7 separate regions of the Homo sapiens genome follow, and all the other regions are linked to region 7. Evidence: promoter capture Hi-C in 16 types of primary human blood cells and fetal thymus (Javierre and others, 2016). All regions are on one chromosome and are shown on one strand. Each heading gives the region's core, a stretch centred on a gene start or on the middle of the fragment in contact. The rest is flanking DNA. Distances are from core to core; before and after follow the strand shown.

Region 1 (3,826 bases), core at 831-3,330, 220 kb before region 7:
CCAAAAGTTATTCAAGAGCAGACGTTCAATTTCCATGAAATTGTATGGTTTTGACTGAATTTCTTAATCTTGAGTTCTTATTTGATTGTGCTGTGGTCTGGGAGACTGGTATGGTTTCAGTTCTTTTGCACTTGCTGAGGAGGGTTTTACTTCTGATTATGTGATCAATTTTAGAGTAAATAACATGTGGTAATGAGAAGAACGTATATTCTGTTGGTTTTGGGCGGAAAATTCTGTAGATATTTATCAGATCCTTGTGATCCAGAGCTGAGTTTAAGTCCTGAATATCTTTGTTAATTTTCTGTCTCAATAATCTGTCTAATATTGTTAATGGGGTGTTAAAGTCTTCTACTATTATTGTGTGGGATTCTAAGTCTCTTTGAGTGTCTCTATGAACTTGTTTTATGAATCTGGGTGCTCCTGTATTGTGTGTATATATCTTTAGAATAATTAGCTCTTCTTGTTGAATTGAACCCTTTACCATTATGTATGTCCTTCTTTGTCTTTTTTCATCTTTGTTGGTTTAAAGTCTGTCTTCCCAGAAACTAGGATTGTGACCCCTGCTTTTTTCTGATTTCCATTTGCTTGGTAAATTTTCCTCCATCACTTTATTTTGAGTCTATGTGTGTCTTTGCACATGAGATGAGTCTCTTGAAGACAGCATAGTGATGGGTCTTGACTCTTTATCCAGCTTGCCATTCTGTGTCCTTTAATTGGGGCATTTAGCCCATTTACATTTAAAGTTAATATTGTTATATGTGAATTTGATTCTCTTGTCATGATGCTTGCTGGTTATTTTGCAATCTTGTTTATGTGGTTGCTTCATAGTGTCACTGGTGTCTGTACTTCAGTGTGTTTTTGTAGTGGTTGGTAATGGTCTTTACTTTCCATATTTTGTGCTTCCTTCAGGAGCTCTTGCAAGGCAGGCCTGGTGGTGATGGATTCCCTAGGGATTTGCTTGTCTGAAAATAATCTTATTTCTCCTTTGCTCATCTGTTGGGAAAAAGCTGAGTGTTGGGAAAAAAACTGAGGCAGGGTGGGCATGTCTGACATAATGTCCTCGGGAATGTGTCTAGACTTGCTGGCTCCTTGCTTCTAGCCTCCTAGGCTCCTAGATTGATTGTATTCCCATTATCTCAAGTAGCAGAACATGTTCCTTATAAATGCTAAACCATCACAGCTGTAGATCATGTGCCTGCCCTTTTGACCCCCACATTCTCACCACTTGTTTCTTTGTTGGATTACCAATAAATAGCATGGGCTCCCGGAGCTCAGGGCCTTTGCAGCCTCCACAATCGCGATGGCCCCCTGGTCCCACTTTACTTCTCAAACTGTCTTTTTCTCAATCCTTTGACTCCACCGGACTTCGTCGCCCCCATGACCCGGTGTTGGGTCTGATCACCCCAACATTATCAAACTTAGTTTGGCCAGATATGAAATTCTGGGTTTGAAATTCATTTCTTTAAGAATGTTGAATCTCTTCTGGCTTGTAGGGTTTCCACTGAGAGGTCCGCTGTTTGTCTGAAGGCTCCTGTAGGAGGTGTCTGCAGACCCCTGTTGAGAGGTCTCACCCAGAGAGGAGAAATGGGATCAGTAACTTGCTTAAGGAAGCAGTCCATTTGCCCCTTGGCAGATCAAGTATGCTGCGCTGACCACCTGGCCTCTCCAGAGCCAGCAACCTGGAAAAAATAAGTTGGCTGAACCACAGAGACAGCTGGCTGCCCCTCCCACAAGGGACTCCATCCCAGGGAGAAATCAGAGTTCAGTTCATATAACCCTGGCTAGAGTTGCTGAAATTTGGCAAGGAGGCCCTGCCCAGTGGGGAGGGATGGATGCAGGTCCCACTTAAAGAAGCAGACTGGGGCCATGCACGGTGGCTCACACCTGTAATGCCAGCACTTTGGGAGGCCGAGGTGAGCGGATCACAAGGTCAGGAGTTCAAGACCAGCCTGGCCAACATGGTGAAACCCTGTCTCTACTAAAAATACAAAAATTGGCCAGGTGTGGTGGCTCATGCCTGTAATCCCAGCACTTTCAGAGGCCAAGGCAGGCAGATCACCTGAGGTCAGGAGTTTGAGGCCAGCCTGGCCAATATGGTGAAAACCCATCTCCACTAAAAATACAAAAATTAGCCAGGTGTGGTGGCGCGCACCTGTAATCCCAGCTACTCAGGAGGCTGAGGCAGAAGAATCGCTTGAACCCAGGAGGCGGAGTTTGCAGTGAGCCAAAACTGTGCCACTGCACTCCAGCCTGGGTGATAGAGCCAGACTCCATCAAAAAAAAAAAAACTAGCTGGGCATGGTGGCGGGCACCTTTAATCCCAGCTACTCCGGAGGTTGAGGCAGGAGACTCGTTTGACCCCAGGAGGCTGAGGCTGCAGTGAGCCGAGTTCAGGCCATTAACTCCAGCCTGGGTGACTGGGCGAGACTCCGTTCTCAAAAAAAAAAAAAAAAAAAAAAAGCCTGGTGGCTGTTGCCTGTAATCCCAGCACTTTGGGAGGCAGAGGCTGGCAGATCATGAGGTCAGGAGATTGAGACATCCTGGCTAACACGGTGAAACCTCGTCTCTACTAAAAAATACAAAAGAATTAGCCAGGCGAGGTGGCAGGCGCCTGTAGCCCCAGCTACTTGGGAGGCTGAGGCAGCAGAATGGTGTGAACCTGGGGGGCGGAGCTTGCAGTGAGCCGAGCTTCCGCCACTGCAATCCAGCCTGGGTGACGACAACAACAACGACAACAACAACAAAAACACAGAAGAAGCAGATGGGTCATGTTCAGGAACAACAGCTGTGCTGCATTGTGGGCAATTTCTTCTGGTCCCGGTGCCAGCAGGCTAGAGCATCAGACTGGAACCACAGATATGGCAGCTGCCCCTCCCCCAGAAAACTCCGTGGTCTCAGGCCCTTTCCAGCCTACTGCTGCTGGCCAGCTGGAATTCCAAGCCAGTGCTTCTTAACTTGTGAGGTGACATGGGAATGGGGCCTGCAGAACAATGTCACTGGGCTCACTGGATTCAGCCCCATTCCTAGGGGAATGCACAGGATTCTTTGCTGGAATTCCTAGGGCTAGAGTATGCAAAACCCCTGAGTTTCCCTGCGTGCCAAAGTGAGGGAGCAGCCACTCTGCTGAGACTCTGCACAACTCTGTGCTTCATACCCAAGGCTCTCATGTGAGAATCTGGATACCTCAGTTGAAGGTGCAGAATTTTCTTGCCATTTTGTGAGAGCTGCAGACCACAACTGCTTCTAATAGGCCATCTTGGTCCCTCCCCGCCTTTTTATCTTCTAATTGTTGGTATAGACGAATGAAATCAATTTGCAAATGTTTATTTTTTTAGTCATTCAATTCAACTAATTCTAAGAATTTTTTATTTGAATAATTTGGGCATAATATCACATTATCAGCAACTGAAATTGTATCTTCTGTTTTCATCCTCTAGGTGTCCCTCTTTCTGAGTTCTGTTTCTTATCACGTTCAGCAGAGTGAATTCTTCTTTAAATATACTACTGTTAAGGAAGATAACTTAGGATGCAATAGACTATCTAAAGAATAAAATCATGAAAGTGCCACATCTCAATCTGGGATGCTGCCAATGCCATACTTAAAGTTCTCAATGCTTGTATCAGGGATGGACAGAAAGATAAACAATCATTGTCAATACTTTATGAGCCAAGAGAAAGAAGAAAAAGCTGAAGTATAAATTTAAACAAAATGGAAGAAGAGAATTGATAAATAATAAAAATAAATTCGTCACCACAAATAATTTAAGAAGCGCCAGTTTACTTCCCAAGCAAGAGTCTTAATATCACTGGGTCTCCTTTATAAAGC
Region 2 (4,006 bases), core at 1,096-3,595, 190 kb before region 7:
CAAGCATTGGGTAAATACACCCATTCCAAATGGGAGAAGTCAGCCAAAAGGAGGGGACTACAGGCTTCATGCAAGTCCAAAATCCAGCAGGGCAGCCAAATTTTAAAGTTCTGAAATGATCTCCTTTTACTCCACGTCTCATATCTAGGTCCTGCTGATGCAAGAGGTGAGCTCCCATGCCCTCTTGGGCAGTTCCACCCCTGTGGCTTTGCAGGGTACAGCCCACCTCTCAGCTGCTTTCACAGGCTGGCATTGAGTGTCTGTGGCTTTTCCAGGTACGTGGTGTAAGGTGTTGGTGGATCTACCGTTCTGGGGTCTGGAGGACGGTGGCCCTTTTCTCACAACTCCACTAGGCAGTGTCCCAGTGGGGAATCTGTGTAGGGGTGCCAGCTCCACATTTCCCTTCCACACTGTCCTAGCAGAGGTTCTCCATGAGGGCCCAACCCCTGCAGCAAACTTCTGCCTGTTCATCCAGACGTTTCCATACTGCCTCTGGAACCTGTGTGTTCCAGGTCCATACATCCTCTGAAATCTACGTGGAGGTTCCCAAATCTCAGTTCTTGACTTCTGTGCGCCCACAGCCCAATACCAAATGAAGGCCACCAAGGCTTGGGTCATGCACCCTTTCTGAATCAATGGCCTGAGTTCTAGCCATGGCTAGGGCACAGGGCACCAAGTCATGAGAATGCACAATGTAGCAAGGTCCTGGGCCCAGCCCACAAGACCACTTTTTTCTCCTAGGCCTCCAGGCCTGTGATGGGAGGGGCTTCTGGAAGACCTCTGGCAGGCCCTAGAGACATTTTCCCTATTGTCTTGGTGATTAACATTTGGCTTCTCATTACTTATGCAAACTTCTGAAGCCAGCTTGAATTTATCCTCAGCAACCGGGTTTTTCTTTTCTATTGCATCATCAGGCTGTACATTTTCTGAATTTTCGTGCTCTGCTTCCCTTTTAAACATGTTTCAGTTCCAAAGCATAAATCTGCGAATACATAAAACTCAATGCATTTAACAGCACCGAAGTCACCTCTTGAATGCTTTGCTGCTTAGAAAATTCTTCTACCAGATACCCTAAATCATTTCTCTCAAGTTCAAAGTTCCACAAATCTCTAAGGCAGGGGCAAAATGCCAGTCTCTTTGCTAAAACATAGCAAGAGTCACTTTTATTCCAGTTTCCAACAAGGTCTTCATCTCCATGTGAGACCACCTCAACCTGAACTTTATTGTCCATGTATCAATGTCAGCATTTTGGTCAAAGCCATTCATCAAGTCTCTAGGAAGATCCAAACTTTCCCTTCAAACTTCTTCCTGTCCTCTTCTGAGCCCTCCAAACTGACCCAACCTCTGCCTGTTTCTCAGTTCCAAAGTCATTTCCACATTTTTGGGTATCTTTACAGCAGCACCCCACTCTACCAGTACCGATTTACTGTATTAGTCAGTTCTCATGCTGTATAAGACATACTTCAGACAGAGGAATTTATAGAGAAAAAGAGGCTAAATAGACTCACAGTTCCACATGGCTGGGGAGGCCTCACAGTCATGGCAGAAGGCAAAGGAGAAGCGAAAGCTTGTCTTAAATGGTGGCAGGCAACAGAGGGTGTACAGGGGAATTCCCTTTTATAAAACCATCAGATCTTATGAGACTTATTTACTACCATGAGAACAATAGGAGGGAAACTGCCCCCCTAATGCAATTTCCTCCACCTGGCCCCACCCTTGACACATGGGAATTATTACAATTCAAGGTGAGATTTGGGTGGGGACACAACCAAACTATATCAGGAACGAATCATGGAAAGAATATTTCAGGACATTATACATAATTTCTCCAACCTTGCTAGAGAGGCCAACATTCAAATTCAGGAAATGCAGAGAACCCCATTGACAAAGAGACATATACTCCCACATAATAATAGTAAGAGACTTTAACACTGTACTGACATTATTAGATAGATTATCCAGACAAAAAAATTAACAAAAATATTCAGGACATGAACTCAGCACTAGATCAAATAGACCTGATACACATCTGGAGTACTCTCCACCCAAAAACAATAGATTATAAGTTTTTCTTATTGTCACATGGTACAGACTCTAAAATCAATCACATAATTGCACATAAAACACTCCTGAGCAAATGCAAACTACTAAAATCATTTACAAAGTCTCTCAGACCATAGCATAATCAAATTAAAAATCAAGACTAAGAAATTCACTCAAAACAATACAATTACATGGAAATTAAATAATATGCTCCTGAATGCCTGTTGGGTACATAATGAAATTAAGGCAGAAATGAAGAAGTTCTTTGTAAGTAATGAGAACAAAGATAAAACATACCAGAATAACTGGGACATAGCTAAGAGAGTGTAAGTGGGAAATTATAGTGCTACATCCCTACATCAAAAAGTTAGAAAGACCTTAAGTTAACAACCTAATATCACAACTAAAAGAATCTCAAATCTAGCTGAAGATAAGAAAAAAAAACAAAATTAGGGATAAACTGAAGGAGACTGAAACAAGAAAAACTATTCAAAACATCAACAAAACTTTAAAAAATAATAATAAAATAGACCACTAGCTAGACTAATATGGAAGAAAAGAGAGAAGGTTCAAATAAACACAATCAGAAATAACAAGGGAGATATTACCATTGACCCCACAGAAATACAAATAATCATCAGAGAATATTATCAACATGTATATGCATGTAAACTAGAAAATCTAGAAGAAATGCATAAATATCTTGACATATACACCCTCCAAAGACTCAACCAAGGAGAAATTAAATTCCTGAACAGACAAATAATGATCTCTGAAATTGAGTAGTAATAAATAGCCTACCAACCAACAAAAGCTCGGGAAAAGCCAGATACACAGCTGAATTCTACCTGTTGTACAAAGAAGAGCTGGTACCATTCCTACTGAAACTATTCCAAAGAATTAATGAGGAAGGTCTCCTCCCTAACTCGTTCAATGAGGCCAGCATCTTCCTGATGCCAAAATGTAGCAGAGACACAATGAAAAAAGAAAATGTCAAGCCAATGTCTATGATGACTATTGATGTGAAAATCCCCAGCAATATACTAGCAAACCTAATTCAGCAGCACATCAAAAAGCTTATCCACTACAACCAAGTAGACTTTTTCTCTGGTGTGCAAGCTTCATTCAACATATGCAAATCAATAAATTTGTCTCATTACATAAACAGAACTAAAGACAAAAACCACATGATTCTCTCAATAGATGCAGAAAAGACTTTCAATAAAATTCAATACCTCTTCATGTTAAAACTCTCAATAAACTAGGTATTGAAGGAACATACCTCAAAATGATAAGAGCCATCTATGACAAACCATGACCAACATCACACTAAGTGGGCAAAAGCTGGAAGTATCCCTCATGAAAACCAGCACAAGAAAAGGATGCCCTCTCTCACCACTTCTATTTAATATAGCATTGGAAGTCCTGGTCAGGGCAATCAGGGAAAGTAAAAAGATAAAGGCATTGAAATAGGAACAGAGGAATTCAAACTGTCCCTGTTTGCAGATAATATAATCCTATATCTAGAAAACACCATAACCTCAACCCAAAAGCTCCTTAAGTTGATAAACTTCAACAAAGTCTCAGGATACAAAAATCAATTTGTCTTCTGAGATAGAAAAATGTTAGTAATGCAAAAATCACAAACATTCCTATACACCAACAACAGTCATGCTGAGGGCCAGATCAGGAACGCAATCTCATTCACAATTGCAACAACAAAAAATTAAATATCTAGGAGTATAGCTAACCACAGAAGTGAATGATTTCTACAAGAAGAAGTAAAAAACACTGCTCAAAGAAATCAAAGATGACACAAACAAATGGAAAAACATTCCTTGCTCGTGAAGAGAATCAATATTGTGAAAATGGCCATACTGCCCAAAGCGATTTATAGATGCAATGCTATTACCATCAAAATGCTATTGACATTCTTCACAGAATTAGAAAAAAAACTATTTTA
Region 3 (4,299 bases), core at 1,273-3,772, 150 kb after region 7:
GGGTGCCACCGTACCAGAGTTTCCTTCCTTGAAACAAGCCATGGTAGCTACCTCCAGCCCTGCACAGCAACTCGTGCTAGCGAAGGGGGCAGTGAACAGGGGCCAGGTCACAAGGACCATGACCCTCGGGGACCACAGGGCCAGGATGTCATTCTCAAAACCATGAAAATCCATGCCAAATATAACAGCAGATTATAAGGCCAACAAAGACTTCTATGTACATGCAAATCTATTAATCACTAAGGGCTAAGTCACTAAACTACAGCTTTCCCATGATGCTCACCATCCATCCTTTGCGGAAACCAAAATGCTCACAACTGACCATGGTGTTCACTTAGTATACTAGCTTAAATTAAAAAAAAAAAATTAGTACAGCATCACAAGTGAGAAGTGTTCCAGGAAGTGTTCTTCAACAATATCCTCAAGCATAAGGTATGAGGAAAATTATATTGGCTTTGCATAAGGAGTGAATGATTGAGAACAAAGAAAAGAGTATACTGCATTCATTTAGTTAGTCTGAAAATGATGTTGCTAGAGAAGGCTATTTAATCAAGAAAAGTACCTCTGCAAGTTGGAGAGAACTGTACTTTCTGAACATAGCAAGAAAAATGCCCATACTTTTGCCCTGACATTCTTAGACACCTATTAAGAATGAGGAAAAGTAAGGTACCATCTATGTATCATATTGTAGTGAAAACAATCACACGTTACCAGAGCTAGAGAAGCCTGGGTTCAGGTTCATTAAGTTCTCTACAGATTGCTAATGGATAACCAGAGTTGAAATTTAATACTACATCAGGAAGTCCAAGGGTCATAATCATACTTGACCCAAATGGCTCACACTAATGAGTCATATTAATACTGGAGGGTAACTGTTTTGTTTACAATTAGCAGCTTATTATCTTGAAGTCAATCTCAGAGACACAAACAAACACATTGACTTTACAAACTCTTTAAATAAAAGGTTCTGTATCTTGATCCTGAAGTATCCTGTAATAGCCTACAGTGAAAAGAAAACAATTCTGAGGAAAAAGATCTCCCCATGATAAAAAACTGAAGCAAACAAAAAGCATTTCACTCTTTTTTTTTTTTTTGAGACTGAGTCTTACTCTGTTGCCCAGGCTGGAGTGCAGTGGCACAAGCTCGTCTCACTGCAAGCTCTGCTCACTGCAAGCTCCACCTCCCAGGTTCACACCATTCTCCTGCCTCAGCCTCCTGAGTAGCTGGGACTACAGGTGCCCACCACCACGCCCAGCTAATTTTTTGTATTTTTAGTAGAGACGGAGTTTCAACGCATTAGCCAGGATGGTCTCGATCTCCTGACCTTGTGATCCACCCGTCTCGGCCTCCCACAGTGCTGGGATTACATGGATGAGCAACTGTGCCCGGCCAACAAAAAGCATTTCTATAAAATAACAATAAAAAAAGAGTTAAAAAAGCAAGCTTCCACTTTATTAAAAAGCAAAAATTACCAACTCGTATAAAATAATTTAACTCATAAAAAGGAGAATCAAACATTACTTTTTAAAATATCAGATACCATAAAATGTGCATTTAGTCTTTTAAATAGTTAAACTTTCAGTTAAACTATTAAACACCTAGCTTTTCTCAGAAAGCTGTTGCAAACCCAAGTACTGTTCTGACTGTACAGAAATCAATGATCCTCTTCTTTAGCAGAATAAAGATGTAACTCCCTTAAATGACATTCACCTTAATATTACCAACTTAAATTCTGCTTCATTACCAGAAACAGTGTTTTCAAGAACTGGATCTTTCTAAATCCACTTTTATTTTTACAACAACTTTACTATTTGATTAAATTCACTGTAGAAAAATGTGAAGACACAGAAAGATTCAAAGAAAATAAAAATTATCCCAGTATCCCTCCCCCAAATACAATAACAAGGTTATATATATTTCTTTCTAGTTTTTTTGTATATTTACATAGCATTTTAAAGCAAAACTAGTACTATAAAATGCTACCATATCCTTTTTTCACTTCATATATAGAGCAACCGTGTCTTTTTAGGACATTGAAATATGCAAAAAGGATTTTCAGTTGGCTGATTCACAATCTAATTATAACTAAGACATAATTTACCTCCAATTGCAAGGGATTCAGATTGTTTCAATTATTTATTATTATAACTATCATTATTAAACACCCTTCTTTATATATAATTCTTTGTATGCATCTCTGATATGGTTTTAAAGAGAAATTGCTAGATGTAGAGTTCCCAGCACAAAGTACGTCCGTATTTTTAAGTCTTTTGATGCATTTTACCAAATTGCCCTCCAGAAATACTGTACCAATTTACAGTCGCATCAATAAATAACCAAAGAGTCCCATTTCTTCCTCACATTCTTTGGCAGTATAGGAAAGTAGAGATTACCCTCCACCCTTTATTGTTGCAAATTTAATAGGGGGAGAAGAGAATGGTGGGTTTTTTTTTCCCCCTTAAAATGTAATATTTTTTCCCACATGTTTACTAGTCATTTGCTTTTCTTCTGTATTTTGAAGTTGTCTAAATCATTCAGGAGTCTCTAATACACACAATGTCTTGTCTTTCTTACAACATACTCTTTGATAGGCAAGGGCATGAAAGCTGCATGTCTTTCCCATATTTTTTTCAAGTTAAGCAGGAATTCCCAAAATGACTGGAATTAGAATGTCTTCTTTTCTCCTGGGCAGCCATGCTACTTTAATGTCTTGGTAATAAAACAGAAAACTGGGCCATATTCTGAAAGGAAGAAAGGAGGCAGTGATATTCACATGTTGGCGTAATTACTGAGATGTTTGTTAAAAAAAAAAACAGATTTTGATTTTCTAGATCAAAGTGAGGACGCAGGAAACATACACTTTAAATAAATTCTACAGAAAATTTTCAAGTTCACTAACCAGATGTGGAACTTCGGGTACTCTAAACTCTTGGTTCCTCACCTCCCTTTCCTGTAAAGTGAGGTTAATAATGCTTATCTCAGAGCATTGTTCTGATAATCACTTATTGCCATACCAGCCCCCAGCCTGGATTATTGTTTATGCAACCTCTATCCCTTATCCTTACCCCACTGTAAGAAATCATTGAAATTTTTATGTGTCTATATCTCCAAACACCATAGGATCATCATCACAACTCTTTATCTTTGCAAACCAGACCTTGACGTATAGCAGGTGCTAAGTGTTTCTGAAATGACTTAGTGAGGGAATGAATGATACACATTTCAGTGCTAACAATACTACCCCAGAAAAAGGGATTATTAGTATGGTGTTCCTTAATGCTGTAGCATGAAGACCAAGATTCTCAGTTTTGTCTAGAGCAGGAATTCCTCATTTTCTCTCTTTAGGTTTTATATGTGTGTGTGTGTATATGTATGTATGTGTGTATATATATACACATATATATAAAATCCTCCTTTGAAAATCCGATGAAAGCTACGTAAACTAAGCCTCTTTAAAAATGCATACAAATAAAATCACACAATTTTACAATTTCAGAAGCTCCAGGAAAGGAGAACACTGATTTCTACTCTTCAAGCATTTTTACTTAAAAATAAAGCTAAAACAGTAAATATATTATTTGAGAAATTAACTTCAAGCTTTTGAAAGACTATGGTCAAAGTGGGGTTAGTTGGGAGACTTAAAAAAAATAAACTTGGCTGGGCGCAGTGGCTCATGCCTGTAATCCCAGCACTTTGGGAGGCCAAAGCGGGTGGATCACGAGGTCAGGAGTTCAAGACCAGCCTGACCGACATGATGAAACCATGTTGGTCATCTACTAGGTTTAGTCTCTACTAAAAATATAAAAACTAGCTGGGCATGGTGGTCCATGCCTGTAATCCCAGCTACTCAGGAGACTGAGGCAGGAGAATCGCTTGAACCAGGGAGGCAGAGGTTGCAGTGAGCTGAGATCGTGCCACTGCACTCCAGCCTGGGTGACAGAATGAGACTCCGTCTCAAACAAACAAACAAATAAACAAACAAACTTCTATGACATTTTGCTAACAATAGTACAAGTAGGAGTCACATTTCTGGCAAACCAACATGCGTTTTTTTATGCAAGCTCCAGTTGTGCCATTTGACTGCACTCAAATGTATTTTTTCCCTTTTAATTCTAATAATAAGGGTTTCCTGCATCTCTATATATTATGATAAAACACTTCATGGGGGAAAGGAGTATCATTTATTCATTAAATAACATTTAGGTCCTAGGTATACAGTGTTGAAACCAATAGATTTGTTTCTTAGTAGGGAAGATAAGCTACAAATTCCAACATTCTTGACCGTCAGTCCTAACTGCT
Region 4 (4,192 bases), core at 1,326-3,825, 220 kb after region 7:
AATAGGATGAAGGAAATGCCAAAGACAATGAGATGCCATTAAAATGACTTTGCTATTAGAAGGTGGTCTCTTCCATCTGGCTCCACCATCCTCTGATCATCCCTGTGACTTTAGAGTTGTGACCTCTTGGAAACATTAAAAGCAACCCATGATGATGGTGGTGGTAACTTCTATCTACCCAAATCAGGCAATAAAGAAAGTGAGAAAGAATTAATCACAAAATCACTTTGATGGTGTAAACTTGAAGTCCCTGGTTGATGCAACAGTTATAAAAAACCTCAGAGGTCCCCCTGCAACACAGATGGAATCACTGAGGAAGCAGATCGCTCTCAGGACCTATGTCTGGTCTCACTCACATCTCTGACCTATATAGCCATATTGTGAGCATAAACACTTGACCCACAAAGCTCTGCTCGTCCAAATTGTAAGTGATTCCCTACACTTGGATCAGGAAGGAGTGACCATCAGCCTGGTTTGGCTGGGATAGTCCTGGTTTATACCTACTGTAGATCAATTAACAAGTTTTAATTATTTTTAGTGTTCCCCTTTTCCCTCTCAAATGTGTCCCAGTTTAGAAGATATATTTTATGGTCACTCTAGGTAAGTGCCTTTCCACCATGGGATGGTTTTGAATTAAATATAGAAATGTCGAAATAAAGCAAACATAGCATTTGTGCTAAATTTAAAGAAAAACTCTGTTTCTTATTTAAAACTTTATACAGTATATAAAATACATAGAATTTCAGAGGTTATCCTCATAATTCCAATTGAATATGCAATTGATTTTAAGTTTGATTTTAAGCTAAAAGGCAAAAATAATTTGACTAAGTTTCCGTATATTATCAGATTATATAAGGTACTTTGATTTGTTATATTTCCTGAGTATAAATAATTTTATTTCAAGCATTATCTGAGTTCTCGGAAACATTTTGTTTATAGGTATTGTAAATTTGTCCTGTCAGACATTTGAAATGCTTAAAAATTAAAGTCAAATTTTTGAAAAACTGTTTAAAATATTTAATCGAATATAATTAAAGTATTGAGGAAAATTATTCTGTTCAATTTAGAAATGTTAATCCAAAAATAGCTAATACAGTAATCAATAAAAAAGTAAAGGTGATATTTCTCATTATACTCAACTTGTAAACAGTATAAAAAGATTTGTAAGTTGAACAGAAATGCTTAAGGAAGACTTGTTTTTAAATTTTCTGACTTTTAATACAATTTAAAACCCAAATAGCTTTTAAATACTTCTTCACACACAGAGCTCTCACCCTTATTTTACTCCGGAATTTTTTTTTTCAAATACCCAATACAAAATTCACATGGACTATTGCCTCAAGAGCGAAACTCTGGCAAATTGGAGAGAGTGTGAACAGCCTGTGGGTGAGGAAAAGAAACAACAAACCTGTACTTCATAAAGTCTGGATGAAAAGGGAGGAGATACTGGGAGATGAACAGCAGAGGATAGGTAGTCAATGGGGTATTTTTTTTTTCTTTTACTAAGGAGAGAGTTTTGAGCGTGTTTGTAAGCAAGTGAAAAGAAGTTCACAAAGAAGAAAAAATGGAAGACACTAAGAGAGGTATGGCTAATGGCCCAAGATCCCAGAGGAATGGGATCAGAAGCTCTGACAGAAATCATAGTCCTCTATTAGAATGGAGACATGGGGCTGGAAGAAAGGAGGTAAGAATGGGGCCTCTAGATAGTTTAAGAGTAGGTGCTGTGAACCTAAGAAAGACGACTCTTGATGGTATAATTTTCTTAACAAAGTAAGAGATAAGGGTTGCATAATGAGTTTGAGAAAAGATGACAAAGATTTGACCATGTCAGATTAGGGACCATGAATTAGAAATGGTACCAATCTGCAAGGGCGTGTAATTTTTTCTGACAGCCCTTCACCCTTGTCTGATCAGATAGGACCTCAAGGAATTGAGGATGTTGGGGAAGTATAAGTTTATCTTATCAATCAAAGAAATCCAGCCCTGTGGGGAACAATGAAGCCATGAAGGACCTGGATGATGGGGGAAGGTGGAGGATCAAGGGGGTGGAGGATCAAGGGACTGGAGGACTTAAAGGAGTCTAAGAGCCATGAGGGTAGGGTGAGGGAATGTGAAAGAGGGAAGGAGAGGAGGTCCTGGAGGGAGATATCGGAGCTCAAGGTTTTAGAAGAGTAATAAGTTCTAAAGGTTATGGAAAGATCCAAGAAGTGAGCAAGTGAATTAGTCAGATGGGGGAAAGGGGGAAGGTGGTTTGTTTTTTTTTAAATCTCCATGTGTGTATTGTCTACATTCATATTACATCTCCTAGAACTGTGGCAGATAGGACTTGGGGTAAGACGAAGACCATGATACAAGGTCCAGCTGTTGGAGGGGCTGGTAAATCAAAGCCACAGGGATGATCAGAGGATGGTAGAGCCAGATGGAAGAGACCACCTTCTAATAGCATTAGTTTTTCTAGAGGCCATGGAAGCAAACCAACCTGGAGTTGGCAATGAGAAACCAGGAGATTGCTACCCTTCATCACAGTCCCCTAGTATGTAGGGAATGGAAAAATAACAACCTCCTTAAGAGAAAGCTGTAGAGTGAAAGGATAGGCAGATTTCAGTAAAGGAAAATAGATGGAAACGGTGACTTAAAATGAGGGTGAAGTATAAAGAGGCTTACTAATTACTAAACTAGCACTTCATAAGAATGCAGTGGGAAATGTATTTGTAAAGTACTGAGGGAAAGTGGAAGAGGAGTATTTTTTGCTTGCTATATCTTTCTTAATTTTATTGTTAATTGACAATAATTGTATATATTCAGGAGACATATGTATATATATATATATCCTGAATTGTATATATTCAGGAGATGTTATATATGAACATATATGCACATTATAGAATAATTAAATCAAACTGACATATTTTCTATCTCAGATACTTAGCATTTCTTTATGTAAGAACGTTTAAAATATACTCTTTTAGCAATTTTGAAATATATAAAACATTATTCTTAATTATAGTCACCATGCTGTGCAATAGATCACAGACTTATTCCTTCTGTCTAACTGAAACTTTGTGCCCTTTGATCAACATCTTCCCTTTCCCCATTCAAATAATCACTACCTCCAAATCTCCAGCTTCTGGTAGGCACCGTTCTACTCTCTACATCTATGAGTTTGACTTTTTTAGATTCCATATATAAGTAAGATCATGCAGTACAGTATTTGTGTTTCTCTGCCTGGCCTATTCTACTTAGCATAATTTTCTCCCGGTTCATCCTCATTGTCACAAAGGGCAGAATTTCCTTCTTTTCCTAAAGGTTGAATAATATTCAATTGTGTATCATCTTTATCCATTCATTCATAATGGACACTTAGGTTGATTTCACGTCTTGGCTATTGTGAACAATGCTTCAATAAACATGAAAGTGCACATATCTCCTTGACATACTCATTTCATTTTCTTTGGATGTATGTCCAGAAGTGGAATTGCTGGATCATATGGTAATTGTATTTTTGTTTGTTTAAGGAAACTTTGTACTGTTTTCTGAAGTGATTATACTAATTTACCTTCCTACCACTGTGCACAAGGGTTCCCTTTTCTCCGCATCCCCCTCCAACACTTGTTCTCTTTCATCTTTTTGATAATAGCCGTTCTAATAGAAATGACTTGATATCTCATTGTGATTTTAATTTGCATTTCCCTGATGATTGATGATGTTGAATAGTTTTTCATGTATCTGTTGGCCATTTATCTTCTTTTGAGAAATGTCTACTTTGGTCCTTTGCCCATTTTTTAAATCAGGTTGTTTTCTTGCTACTGAATTGTTTTAGTTCCTTATATATTTTGGATATTAGGCCCTTATCAGAAGACAGATTTGCAAATATTTTATCCGAATTCTTGGGTTGTTCCTTTACTCTATTATTTCCTTTGCTGTCCAGAAGATTTTTCTGTTTGATACAGTCTCATTTGTCTATTTTTTCTTTTATTTCCTATGCTTTTTATGTTGTATCCAAGAAACCACTGTTCAGACCAGTATCACAGGGCATTTCCTCTACGTTTTCTTTTAGAAATTTTACAGTTTTGGGCTTTACATTTAAATCTGAAATCTATTTTGAGTTTATTTTTGTATATGGAGTGAGATGAGGGTCTAATTTCATTCTTCTGTGGGTGGATATCCAGTTTTTCCAACGCTGCTTATTGAA
Region 5 (4,287 bases), core at 623-3,122, 190 kb after region 7:
GAGCTTGAACAAGGACCTCAAGCTCCAGATGGGGACTCAGTCCTTGAATATGCCTTGTGGGGCCTTGTGCAACCCCAAGCAGAGGACTGGCTAAGCTGTGCCAGACTTCTGACCAACAGGAACTAGGAGATGATGTGTGCTATTTTAAGCTGCTAAATTTGTGGTAATTTGTTACACAACAGTAGAGAACTCATACATATATCTTGACTAACTTCTAACAATGGGATAAAAATGACTTGGCCTCCTCTGTAATATGGAGCAGCACCAGCCTCCTTAAGGAAACAACAGCACAGACACAAGTAACCCACTTCAGAAGCCCTAAGCCTACTTCCCACAGACATATAACTACTACCAGCAAGAGGTCATTAATGATGCATTGTTTTTCTTTATCTTTATAAGAAGGGGGAAAAAAATGAACAAAACATTTCTTCTTGCAGTTAGAACTAAAACCAGAGCTTTGATTTTAGTCATCTGATCTACTTTCCCAATGTAAGGGGCAAGAGCATGAGATCTTTGATCTCCTAAGTCAATATAACTTAACCAAAAATAAAACATTGTAAATAAAGGTTACTAAGATGTTCTGATTCTGCCAACATATAAAAGCTCAGACCTGTATCTTTACTCTTTCCAGAATTTAAGTTAAATTTAAATTATCCTTTAGTAGTAACATCCAAAAAGCTTAAAATACCATACCTTGCAAGGAGGACGCAATCAACATTTTTTATCTTCCCCAAAATTAAGGCATCAGATGGCTGCATGCAATGAAAAAATGACATTTAACTCAGTGATTTAAAAACAGGTATGTAAATTATAATTGTTCAACCACAACAGGACTCATGGAATCTGAAGAGTCTGAGGATACAACTTAGAGAAGAGGCAAGATCTGATTATCAATATAATCATTTAATCAATTACTTATTGATCCCTCTGCAGGCATAGATTCACAGGACTCAAGGTTACCATGGGCACCTGTGTAGGTACCATTTAGTCAGATCTATTTGTAACGAGTACCCCAGGGAACTCTGATGGTAGACTGGTCAAATTTAGATGTGTCAAGGTTATTGGGCAGGTTTGAGAACAGGTGTGAAGGTGAAAGGCAGAAAGGATAACAAGCCACCATCATGACACTAAGAATTCAGCACTGGAAATGTCTGCTTGTGTTAACCAGGTCTAAGATGATCATGGAAATGACTTGAGGTAACAAAGGCTGGAAAGACCCTTAGAACCGAGGGGTTTAAGAAAATGAACCAGGATGACTGCAGGACTGGGAGCACACAAGGTCAACCTAAGAATTTAGCTGAAAAGGAGGGTTTGGTTGGGACAGCCAGATAGAGAGATCTTACAGATGGACCAGAGGACGTAGCAATATGGAATTAGGAGAATGCAGACACCCTCACCCCGGCCTAGGCTGAGTGACATGGGCTTGGAGAACAAGCAACCTCTCCTATAAAAGGAGGAGCATTTTATTTCTAGCTCAGTTACACATTCAACTAACATCAGGTATGTTCTAATTCCCCAAAACAATTCTTTCCACTCAAATGCCGCTTCGTAACAATAATTCATCCTATTAGTCATCAGCCTGTCCCCTAATTAGTGTGGTGTGACCTATTGGCCACAAATTAGAAGATTTGAATGTAGATTTGAAAAGTACAGTCTGAAATGAGTCTGTGGTCTGAAATGAGTATCTGATTTCCAGCAACAGAATGAGAAGTGATTTACATACTAAGTAGCCATTTTCTCAAAACATCAAAGTGTGAGGCGCCCATCAGACACCTTCTCAGCTGATGGAACCCAACAGCAGAACTTCTGGCCCTCTCTGCTGGGAGCAGACAGCCCTGGGCTGCCAAAACAAAAGCAATTCTTTTTTTTTTTTTTAATTCAAAAATCAAGCCAGCAAGGAGAAATGAAAAAACTAAAAAACATGTCTCCACAAGTTGGATATTAACCTTGCCAAATGGAGTATCCACATATTTTTCAGTTCTTCCTTCTAAAATTTCTGGATCATCCAGGCCTGTTCCACCAATTATTCCAATCTAAGAGAGAAAAAGACAGAGAAGATTATTGTATTTGGTAATTTTTATTAGAAATAAGATTCTAAGCAAATTCATTTATTCATATGCTCTTCTCCATTCCTGCCAAGCCCTAGTTATTTTTTTGAAATCTGAAAATTACTGAACATCAATCAACAAATATTTCAAAGCCTTCCATAAAAATCAACAAACATTTGAAGGCCTTCTATATTCTATAAGTAACCAAAACGTAGGGCACCTTTTTGGACTACATCACATTTACTTCTGACTGTCTGAATTACAAGTCAGCATAGAGAGGTATTTTAACCAACTCAAGGTAGAAAATCAAACCTAAAAGTAGGCAAGTATGGTAGTGGAAAGTACCTTCTGATCAATTTTGTTTCTCTGTCAAATGGACTATAGAATAAACAATGTTCAGAAGACTGCTGGGATATAAAATATTAGGTATTCCATTTGGTATTGATTTCTCCTCACTGTTCTATTTGATAAAGAAATGAGAGATTATCTTTCCCACGCCATTAGAATCACAGAGCTAGGAGAGAATGCAGACAGAGGAGACTGAAATTGCATGAAAAGTTACCCGCATATACATTTATGAAAACAATCATTCATATATGTATGCAAATTCATATTTACATGTTGTAAATATACATATAGCATACTCATGTATATTACTCAGTAAATACATTTATGCAAATATAAATAATTCAAAAGGTAGTTATAAGTTTTTTTTAAGTTCATGCATTGTATTGCATTTTTCAGAGATTATCTTGAAAGTCCTTGTCTGAGTTAAAGAAACCTAGCACTATCCTCTGAGAGTTGATCTAATTTGATGATTAAGAAAGACAAACAAGAACAATTACAAAAATAAATAAAAATTAACTAAACTGTTAAAACTAAAAATAAGTAACAAATCATTAGGGAAATTTCCTTGGGCTGGTACCTCCTAGAGAGTAAACAGTGCCAGGCTAACTTTATTAGAAACCTAATTAATGCGAAGTGACCTGAGCATTGTTGTTTTTCAATGAAAAGCTTTAAATCTATTGTCACAAGGGTAACTAAATAAAATAAAGTAGGCCTCAAGAAAAAAATTCCAGGATTAAGAATTCAGTGAACATCTGCATTAAATAATTTTCAGGTCAGGTTACACAAGTTGAGTCCTATCAACACGTAAAAAAATGGTTACCTTTCTGGCTCAGTTTCCTGAAAAAAACAAAACACACACACAAAAAAAGCAACAACAACAAAAAACAAACAAGAAAATAAGGACAATTTAGTGAGGTTTTTACTGAAGAACTCTGCCTGTTTCCCATGACATGGTTACATAATTTGTGACTGTCCACCACAATTTCCTTAAGTGGCAAAGCCAGGCTTTGATGTTGGCGCCATCTTGTGGAGGTATATTATTAAAACCACAGCAGGTTAACATACTTTTATGTCAACGAACAAAGAGTAACCAGTATTATAGCTTTCAAATCAACAGAAGTGTTCACTTAAGTCAATACATTTAAATTACGGCACTTCAATAGAAAATAACAAAAATTCATACTGTTTTAGGAAATCCCAATCCTTCCTTAGCCTGGCTTCTCCATCTTATCCTTCATTCCGTGGACCTCTGAAGCACCACAGGTCATGAGGAGGCTAAGAAACCATCCAGCCCATATCCTCACCTGGGACACAGATATGAACTGCTGACTCTGAAATTACTCTCAGCCAGCTCCCTGGGGATTCAGCTACTAGCTTTTTAACTTATCACCACTTTGGCCTGGCTGTTTCTGGGTGTTCCCTGAGCCAGGGCATCTCAGATTCTGGATTCAACACTGGATGCTCGGGATCAAATACACAAATCGAGTTGGGCTTTGTTTGGAGCCACCCTCTGAGTTTAGGTGAACTTGCCCAGCATTGTAGCAGTTGTTGAGAAATGCTAACCAGGTGTCCCGCTGAATTTCAGAGCCCCTGAGCTCACTCTCAGCAACCCCAAGCTTCAGTCTGCACCACCTGGCTGCATAATGACTCTGCACCAGGTAGCTGGCAACTCAGCCCTCAGCAAGGAACATGTAGTAGCCCTGGACATGAAAGCAAGAGTGGCTACTGCTCTGGAATGATCTGCAGGCAAGCCCATCCAGTCACTTTACTAGGTCCAGTTGTTTACGGAAACCTACATTGTGCGAGGGATACAGGGACAAGTGTAGCAACTGAGTCCCGCCATCCCAGGAAACTGGACCTCTAAGATGGAGGCCAGCAGGGCCAAGATGTG
Region 6 (3,792 bases), core at 410-2,909, 150 kb before region 7:
TTCTATTTTGATCTCTTATTATATGCCAGATCTTTACATAATTTTTCATCTTAATCATCATAAGAACCCAGTGAAATAAGTAACAGTATTATCTCCATTTTTCAGATAAAGAAACTGAGACACAGATTTACTAACTTGCCCAAGGTTACAAAGCTTAATGGAGGTGACCTTGGATTTTAATCCAAGCAGACTGACTCCAAAACGAAATATCCTTACCACTACCCTATGCTATCTCTGAAAAGAATGAAAAAGAACTTCATTTACCCTCTATCAATGAAACTAAATGACTTATTTAAGGAGCAGAATACCAGATATAACTATATGGGCATAATTTAATGTGCAAATGGAGCAGAGCACATGCCACCAAGGCAAACACACACATATATCTAAGCCCACAAAATGTCTTAATTGCTGTTTTAATAACTAATTACACTTTCCAATTTCCAATTGTCTTTGCAATAAAATATCTTCCTGTTTACATAATAAATGAATTTCAAAGTCAATTTCTAATTTCCTTTTTTTTTTTTTTTTTTTTTTGAGACAGAGTCTCGCTCTGTTGCCCAGGCTGGAGTGCAGTGGCGCAGTCTCAGCTCACTGCAAGCTCCGCCTCCCTGTTCCCGCCATTCTCCTGCCTCAGCCTCCCAAGTAGCTGGGACTACAGGCGCCCACCACCATGCCCGGCTAATTTTTTGTATTTTTAGAAGAGACAGGGTTCCACCGTGTTAGCCAGGATGGTCTCGATCTCCTGACCTTGTGATCCACTGGTCTTGGCCTCCCGAAGTGCTGGGATTACAGGCATGAGCCACCACACCTGGCTGTCAATTTCTAATTTCTAAAGAAAATCTTTCTGCAACTACTCCTTAAGAAATCAGTATTCCAATGCAAAGAAATTACAATATATCAATTGGAAGCTCAAATTACTTGTTTAAAAATTCAAAAAATTTAATTCCACTCCCCCTGCCTCTCTAGTTCCCCAAAACTAAATTCTTCTGGATATTTTTTGGAACTAAAACCTTTTAGTAATGAGGCAAACGGATAAATACACCCACATCTGGTGGCTTGTGGTCATTCTTACATATTCATCTAGGTCTTTCAGTGCCTGCAATCAATATACCCACAAACTCCATTCCAGGCACTTTACAAAAACAAAGCTGTCTTCTGCAAAAGTGATACATGGTATACCTTATATTTTAGCAGCAACAGCAGCAGTAGCAGCTCAGGAGAGAAAACAGAGGGAAACAATTATTATGGTTTTTAAAACTAAGAGTTACAAAGAGTGACTATATTTAGTAAGCACTATTTTGAGATGATAAAGTCTACTTAGTTTTGGTGCAAAAAGTTGGTTGAAGGATATTTGCATTTGGATTTTAACACTCAACACTCAATCATGATTAATTTAATCACCTTAGTACTATGTCCAAGATGGATTACACACATAATTATGTATATGTTCTTTTCCTCCAGGCAAGAATTATCTGGGGTCCATGTGACATTTCTGCCTTGAATCTGCCTTTCCTGACACATTCAAGGGTTTGATGAAGCTATTCGCAGCCCACCATGAAGCTCTTTGCAGCCCACTATCATCAGCCTCCAAACACCTTTAGTCTGAACCCTAAGATTCAGAAATAGTTTTTCTAATGAACTCTACTGCACTTTATGTAAATACAATTATATTTCATACAGTCATATCAAAAAAGGGAACCAAAGAGAGATATGTGGAAAGAACCTAGTTGATCTTTGGAGTCAAAGGACCCTATTCATCACTCATTTACCATCTGTGCAATGCAGAACATGTTTGAATTCTCCAGTTTTTCTTCTGAAAAAGCATTATACCTATATTTATCTTTTAAGGTTACTACTACAATCAAGTAAGATGTTGTTGGCCTAACAAAGTTCTTGGTACAGACTGGGTAACATAAGAATCATAATTATATTTACAACCAGTAAAAGAATTTATAATTACAATCAAGAAAAGAAATCCTATAGATAGAAAAGCATTCATCTATAGCCATTTGCAACTTTATTTCACAATATTTCCTTGGGCAAATTTCTCTACACCCTGCCCCAATATCAGGTTTTATCTTGTTATAAACCCGTAGGATTTTTAGTGTTTATCATGAGTTACCAGCATGTCCACCATGGAATACAATGATTTTGGTTTATCAAGTCAGGCTGGCTAGAGGAATATTTTAGAGAAGTAAATGACTTTGCAACCTGATGCAGCTAGCAGGGAGATTGCACAACCTTAATTCACAAGCACAAGCACACACACCCACACACCCAGGAAGCGTGGGGGTCTTGTGGAAGTCAGTAGCTTATCTATTATGTACACTCCGGAGCTGTAAACAAGACCATGTGAGGACTCAGCTAGAATGCTTCCTCTGAGTCAGTATTAAACAAACTTCCGAACTATTAGGGAAGGAAATAAAGCCACTGTACCCCCAAAGACACCCAGGACAGAGTGCCAGGGATTATGGGAGTTGTTTTTAATATTCTGCCAGAGACTGATGCAATGATTAAAGGAGGTTTTGTAATAAAAACAACATACTGCTTAACAATAAATAGCTAGCATAAATTAGAATGGGTTGTAATCTCATAAGGAGTGTCCTACCAGAAATTTACATGACCAATTATGTAAAAATAACAAAATGTTTTGAAAATCTTTAGTGCTGTACTTCATAAGAATGCTAGCACAACTTTTTGTTTGGTAACAATTACTTTAGTATCATATCACAGTATCTATTTTGATTCAGGATAAATCACAGGCAAAAATCTCATCAATGGTAAAAATAATACAACACCAGGAAATCACAAATTCTCAAAAACAGTACAGCATGGGGCAGTGGAGAAGACTCTGGCTTTGAAATCAGAAGTGTTCAAACTACATTTTCTAGTTTTGTGATCTTGAGCAAACTGTATCTTATGAAGATATCATTTTTTCATCTATAAGATAATGACATTCACAAGGTTCTTATTAAGATCATATTAGATATTAGATGAGTAAGCACTTTGACAAATATGTAGAGCTGTATGAATGTGAGATATAATGACTCACTGCTTTAACCTGTAAAAGTCCTCAGGTCAACTCAAACAGAGTTAGAAAGAAATCAGGTTTAGAATGCTCTGGAATTGTTTTTCTTGAAGGCTAATGAGTTCTAAAGCTTGCCTCTCCTTTGGCCTGAAGTAAGTACATTTTTATTTTTAGGAAGGAAAAAAAAGATGGATATCACCTGTAACTGAAAATCTGCAGTTATAACTTGATCCTGAGAATGCAGATGCTCTTACTTACACATAGTCTTGTTTCTGAGTTTTAGAAGACTGAATACAGAAATCACCAATCATAAAAAGGAGGAAACAAAGCATTTTAATTTCTTTCAATGTCCACAAAGTAGAATGTTTCATTAAGTGTTGTCTGGGTGTTCAGACAGTAAAGGACATTACCATTTCCGGCAACCCAAAACTTGACCTCACATTTGGACTTCTGACGGTAAACTTCCTGAGAGGAAATTAAATACAGAGAACCTCTTCCAGTTTGGGATACCGGTTCTGCCAAAAACACCGTGAGAAACACTTACACTAAATTAACTTTTTGAAATTTACCCTTAAAATACTAAAGCTAACAGAAAGGGCAGTGTATTTTTTTTTATTTAGAATAGGGAGTGAAATCAAAATCAAATATGTCCAATATATCCTTTTCTCCTTTTATTCCTCTAAAAATTTGTTCTACAGTAAGATAAAAGAGTTCTTCCTTGCTTTCCTATAATATCTTTACTTGAACTCTAATCTCTAGGC
Region 7 (3,773 bases), core at 106-2,605:
CTGTTGAGGCTCTGTCAGTAGATTTTCAGCCCTAACCAGCACTTCCATGGTGGTGGCACTTCCACTGCCTTTAAAAGAAAGAGCTTTTTTTAATTCTACAGGGATTTGGGGGATGAGGAGTCAGAGCTAAGGTATCCTAAAAAAAACATGTGAAGACTCTCATTTTGCAATACACAAGCAATTGCCCTCCTGTTAAGACTTTGTCTTCCTCAGCACTCCGAACCAAAATGATTCTGTAAACAAAAATTGTTCACTTTTAGGAGAGGTCCACTTATGCAGTTCCTCACCAAAGTTTTTAGGCAACAAATCCATAACTTGCGGTTCTCTTCCTATCCAATGTAGCATCCGCTGAAATGTTTTAAATATTTTAAGTAATAAATGTTGATTCAAACTCACCTAGGAAGATTAGGAAGGGGAAAAAAAGCACTTGGCATTTAAATCTTCAGAAGAGAATTTAATGACAGGTTCAGCCTGTTTAATGACAAGCCCAGCACCACACCCCTCTCTTATGATGTTTCATTATTACTGCATAAATTTCCTTTATTACTCATGATAAATAAAAATAAGATACCTGACAAAGTGGGTTTAAATAGGTAAGAGTGCAAACAAAGATTTACTGTACAAATATGATGAAACTGGGATCTCAGATTCTTAAAGTATAATTTTTTTTTGTCTTATGTGTGCCAGGTTGCCACTCTCAATCTCGAACTAGTTTTTTTCTCTTTTAAGGGTTGTATCCATAATGCAAAAATGGAAAGAATTAAAAAGCACACGCAAAACATGATTCTCGGGATTTTTCTCTATTTTTATGGTTGACTAATTCAAACAGAAAGACACATCCAAGAGAAAATTGCTAAGTTTGATACAAGTTATGAAACTTGTGAAGCCCAAGTACTGCCTGGGGATGAATTTAACTTGTATGACAGGTGCAGAGCTGTCGCTTTCAGACATCTTAAGAAACACGGAGTTATTTTGAATGACTTTCTCTCGGTCACAAGGGAGCCACCAACGTCTCCACAGTGAAACCAACTGGCTGGCTGAAGGAACAGAAATCCTCTGCTCCGCCTACTGGGGATTAGGAGCTGAGGGCAGTGGTGAACATTCCCAAAATATTAGCCTTGGCTTTACTGGACATCCAGCGAGCAGTGCAGCCAGCATTCCTGGCGGCTCCCTGGCCCAGTCTCTGGCGCATGCGTCCTAGCATCTTTGGGCAGGCTTCCCCGCCCTCGTGACGCGTCGGCCCGGGCCTGGCCTCCCGGCGATCACAGCGGACAGGGGGCGGAGCCTAAGGGGGTGGGGAGACGCCGGCCCCTTGGCCCAGCTGAAAACGGAATTCTTTGCCGGCTGGCTCCCCACTCTGCCAGAGCGAGGCGGGGCAGTGAGGACTCCGCGACGCGTCCGCACCCTGCGGCCAGAGCGGCTTTGAGCTCGGCTGCGTCCGCGCTAGGCGCTTTTTCCCAGAAGCAATCCAGGCGCGCCCGCTGGTTCTTGAGCGCCAGGAAAAGCCCGGAGCTAACGACCGGCCGCTCGGCCACTGCACGGGGCCCCAAGCCGCAGAAGGACGACGGGAGGGTAATGAAGCTGAGCCCAGGTCTCCTAGGAAGGAGAGAGTGCGCCGGAGCAGCGTGGGAAAGAAGGGAAGAGTGTCGTTAAGTTTACGGCCAACGGTGGATTATCCGGGCCGCTGCGCGTCTGGGGGCTGCGGAATGCGCGAGGAGAACAAGGGCATGCCCAGTGGGGGCGGCAGCGATGAGGGTCTGGCCAGCGCCGCGGCGCGGGGACTAGTGGAGAAGGTGCGACAGCTCCTGGAAGCCGGCGCGGATCCCAACGGAGTCAACCGTTTCGGGAGGCGCGCGATCCAGGTAGCTGGGGCCCCAGGGCCTCGCCGGCAGGGGGCGCGCGAACGCGGGGCGCGGCCTCGGCGGATCGGGGCTGGAACCTAGATCGCCGATGTAGATTTGTACAGGAGTCTCCGTTGGCCGGAGGTGTGCATTCCACGCGTAAAACAGGCTTTTACCCAGCAAAAATCCTAAAGAGAGACATTGAAAAACCCACTGTTTAAGCTTTTTTTAGTGGTTTTTGTTCTGCCATCTCATGATCAGAGATGCAAGGAATAGACTGAATTGGGGAGAAAAGGAGAAAAGGAAAGCTTATTTAGGGAAGAAGATTATCTTGTCTGTCTGCTTTCAACGATAAAGATAAGTAAAGTATAAGTTACGCATTCTAGATTGGATTTAAGGAATTCTACAAAATCATAGTACATGGAAAAAATCAATGTAAACTTCTAAGCTACTATATGAAATCTGTTGTATTGTTTTCTCATAGAGGTTAATTGAGAATGAGACGGGATTCCTCAACCACAGTACTTAGTTCCTTTTATGTTAGCAGTGTCTTATGAGTGATGCATAAGAGAAAAAATATATAGTTCTATAGGTTTCTCATTCTTTAATTATCATACTCAGTGCCCAGATTACAAAAATATTCCTGCAGCAACTGTTAGGTCCTTTTTGAATGGCAAAGGATCTTCATAAATAATGCATCTTTATCTTCATTGTTAAAATACACTTATTCAATGTTTAAGTACGAATCCTGCTTTAATTAGTACTGATATTTTTTATTTCTTTTACAATCTCGGACAACTCTTTTGTACTTTACCGTTGGCTAGTGGTCATATTCAGTACTCACCTCACTATCACCCTCTAAAACTAAGCTAATATTAAGGGATCTTGTTAATAGTATAGATTTTAAAGAAGTGTTCATTTCTTTTGAATTCTTAGAATAATGGTATAACAAATGAGGGATTTTTAAAGGAGCAAAAATATTGTAAAGTGCATCTTAAAAACTTAAAATTTTATTAATAATTATAAAAACAAGTTATATATGTAATTCACCATTTTCTGAAATACTAACAGCAGCTATTTTCCCCTTTTTTTCTATGTAAAATATCCTTACATCACTAGTAGATATAACTTATCACGGTTTTTAAGAGATGAAATGAACATTTCTAATATTAATGAAACAAGCCAACAAAACATGAGAAGTATACTGCCTTTCAATTAAATGGTATATTTTAAAGTGCATAAACCCATAACAAATAACTCGATTTTAGACATTTAGTTACCAAAAATTGTCTTATAATTGACTTTAAATATGACAGCAAATGTTTTCATAATGTTCATGTACACAAATGGCTGCTACAGGATTACTCCTGCAAAACATCATTTTTTCTAAGTTATGCATCATCCTGATTGACTGCTAACATCCAAGCTCTATTTATTTATTTATTTATTTTATTTTTTTTGAGATGAGGCCTCACTCTGTCGGACAGGCTGGAGTGCAGTGGCACAATCTCAGCTCACTGCAACCTCTTCCAGGATGCAAGCGATTCTCCTGCCTCAGCCTCCTGAGTTGCTGGGACTACAGGCACGCCCCACCATGCCCAGCTAATTTTTTATTTTTTGTAGTAGAGACGGGATTTCACCATGTTGGCCAGGCTGGTCTCGAACTCCTGACCTCAGGTGATCTGCCTGCTATGGCCTCCCAAAGTGCTGGGATTACAGGCATAAGCCACTGGGCCTGGCCCAAGCTCTTTTTATATAGCAAAATATTTACTGTTTAACATTTTTAAATCTTAGCTATTATAAAATCCTGTAGTATACAAATATAGTTAGTTTTATATTACATTAAAAATATTATAGTCTAAATTTAAAATGATGAACTGTTAAGGAAAAATCATTTATTATAATTTTATAAGATTTTGCATGATTTAATTT

Evidence for each region. Contacts are between HindIII fragments. The CHiCAGO score rates a contact against its expected background, and 5 or more counts as called.
Region 1: a fragment that was not itself captured here is called in contact with the fragment with the promoter of CDKN2B in region 7 in 6 of 17 cell types (M2 macrophages, M0 macrophages, naive B cells and 3 more); the score reaches 13.7 in M2 macrophages.
Region 2: a fragment that was not itself captured here is called in contact with the fragment with the promoter of CDKN2B in region 7 in 3 of 17 cell types (total B cells, naive B cells and M0 macrophages); the score reaches 11.4 in total B cells.
Region 3: a fragment that was not itself captured here is called in contact with the fragment with the promoter of CDKN2B in region 7 in 4 of 17 cell types (erythroblasts, megakaryocytes, total CD8 T cells and 1 more); the score reaches 6.1 in erythroblasts.
Region 4: a fragment that was not itself captured here is called in contact with the fragment with the promoter of CDKN2B in region 7 in 9 of 17 cell types (monocytes, fetal thymus, non-activated CD4 T cells and 6 more); the score reaches 6.7 in monocytes.
Region 5: a fragment that was not itself captured here is called in contact with the fragment with the promoter of CDKN2B in region 7 in 17 of 17 cell types (megakaryocytes, M2 macrophages, endothelial precursors and 14 more); the score reaches 51.0 in megakaryocytes.
Region 6: a contact is called between a fragment that was not itself captured here and the fragment with the promoter of CDKN2B in region 7, in 4 of 17 cell types (M0 macrophages, M1 macrophages, M2 macrophages and 1 more). The highest score is 10.9, in M0 macrophages.

What each region holds. Positions count from the first base shown.
Region 1 is chr9:22,228,369-22,232,194 of GRCh38, reverse strand. No RefSeq gene overlaps it. Among named protein-coding and RNA genes, the nearest start is that of DMRTA1, 220 kb to the left of the region's middle. The HindIII fragment of the contact is 4,433 bases long and covers 1-3,826 here.
Region 2 is chr9:22,194,766-22,198,771 of GRCh38, reverse strand. No RefSeq gene overlaps it. Among named protein-coding and RNA genes, the nearest start is that of CDKN2B, 190 kb to the right of the region's middle. RefSeq lists an enhancer at 1,357-1,416. The HindIII fragment of the contact is 1,552 bases long and covers 1,570-3,121 here.
Region 3 is chr9:21,860,418-21,864,716 of GRCh38, reverse strand. MTAP (methylthioadenosine phosphorylase) reads right to left here. Exons shown (of 8, transcript NM_002451.4): 8 at 1-2,741. The coding sequence ends at 2,703. Among named protein-coding and RNA genes, the nearest start is that of MTAP, 60 kb to the right of the region's middle. The HindIII fragment of the contact is 2,154 bases long and covers 1,446-3,599 here.
Region 4 is chr9:21,791,729-21,795,920 of GRCh38, reverse strand. No RefSeq gene overlaps it. Among named protein-coding and RNA genes, the nearest start is that of MTAP, 8.8 kb to the left of the region's middle. The HindIII fragment of the contact is 8,774 bases long and covers 1-4,192 here.
Region 5 is chr9:21,813,179-21,817,465 of GRCh38, reverse strand. MTAP (methylthioadenosine phosphorylase) reads right to left here. Exons shown (of 8, transcript NM_002451.4): 2 at 1,947-2,033; 3 at 694-752. Among named protein-coding and RNA genes, the nearest start is that of MTAP, 13 kb to the right of the region's middle. The HindIII fragment of the contact is 2,384 bases long and covers 681-3,064 here.
Region 6 is chr9:22,157,721-22,161,512 of GRCh38, reverse strand. No RefSeq gene overlaps it. Among named protein-coding and RNA genes, the nearest start is that of CDKN2B, 150 kb to the right of the region's middle. The HindIII fragment of the contact is 3,008 bases long and covers 156-3,163 here.
Region 7 is chr9:22,006,887-22,010,659 of GRCh38, reverse strand. CDKN2B (cyclin dependent kinase inhibitor 2B) reads left to right here and starts at 1,355. Exons shown (of 2, transcript NM_004936.4): 1 at 1,355-1,862. The coding sequence starts at 1,707. The region is part of intron 1 of CDKN2B-AS1 (CDKN2B and CDKN2A antisense cis and trans regulatory RNA 1); the gene reads right to left. RefSeq lists a silencer at 1,814-2,013. The HindIII fragment of the contact is 2,577 bases long and covers 1-2,065 here.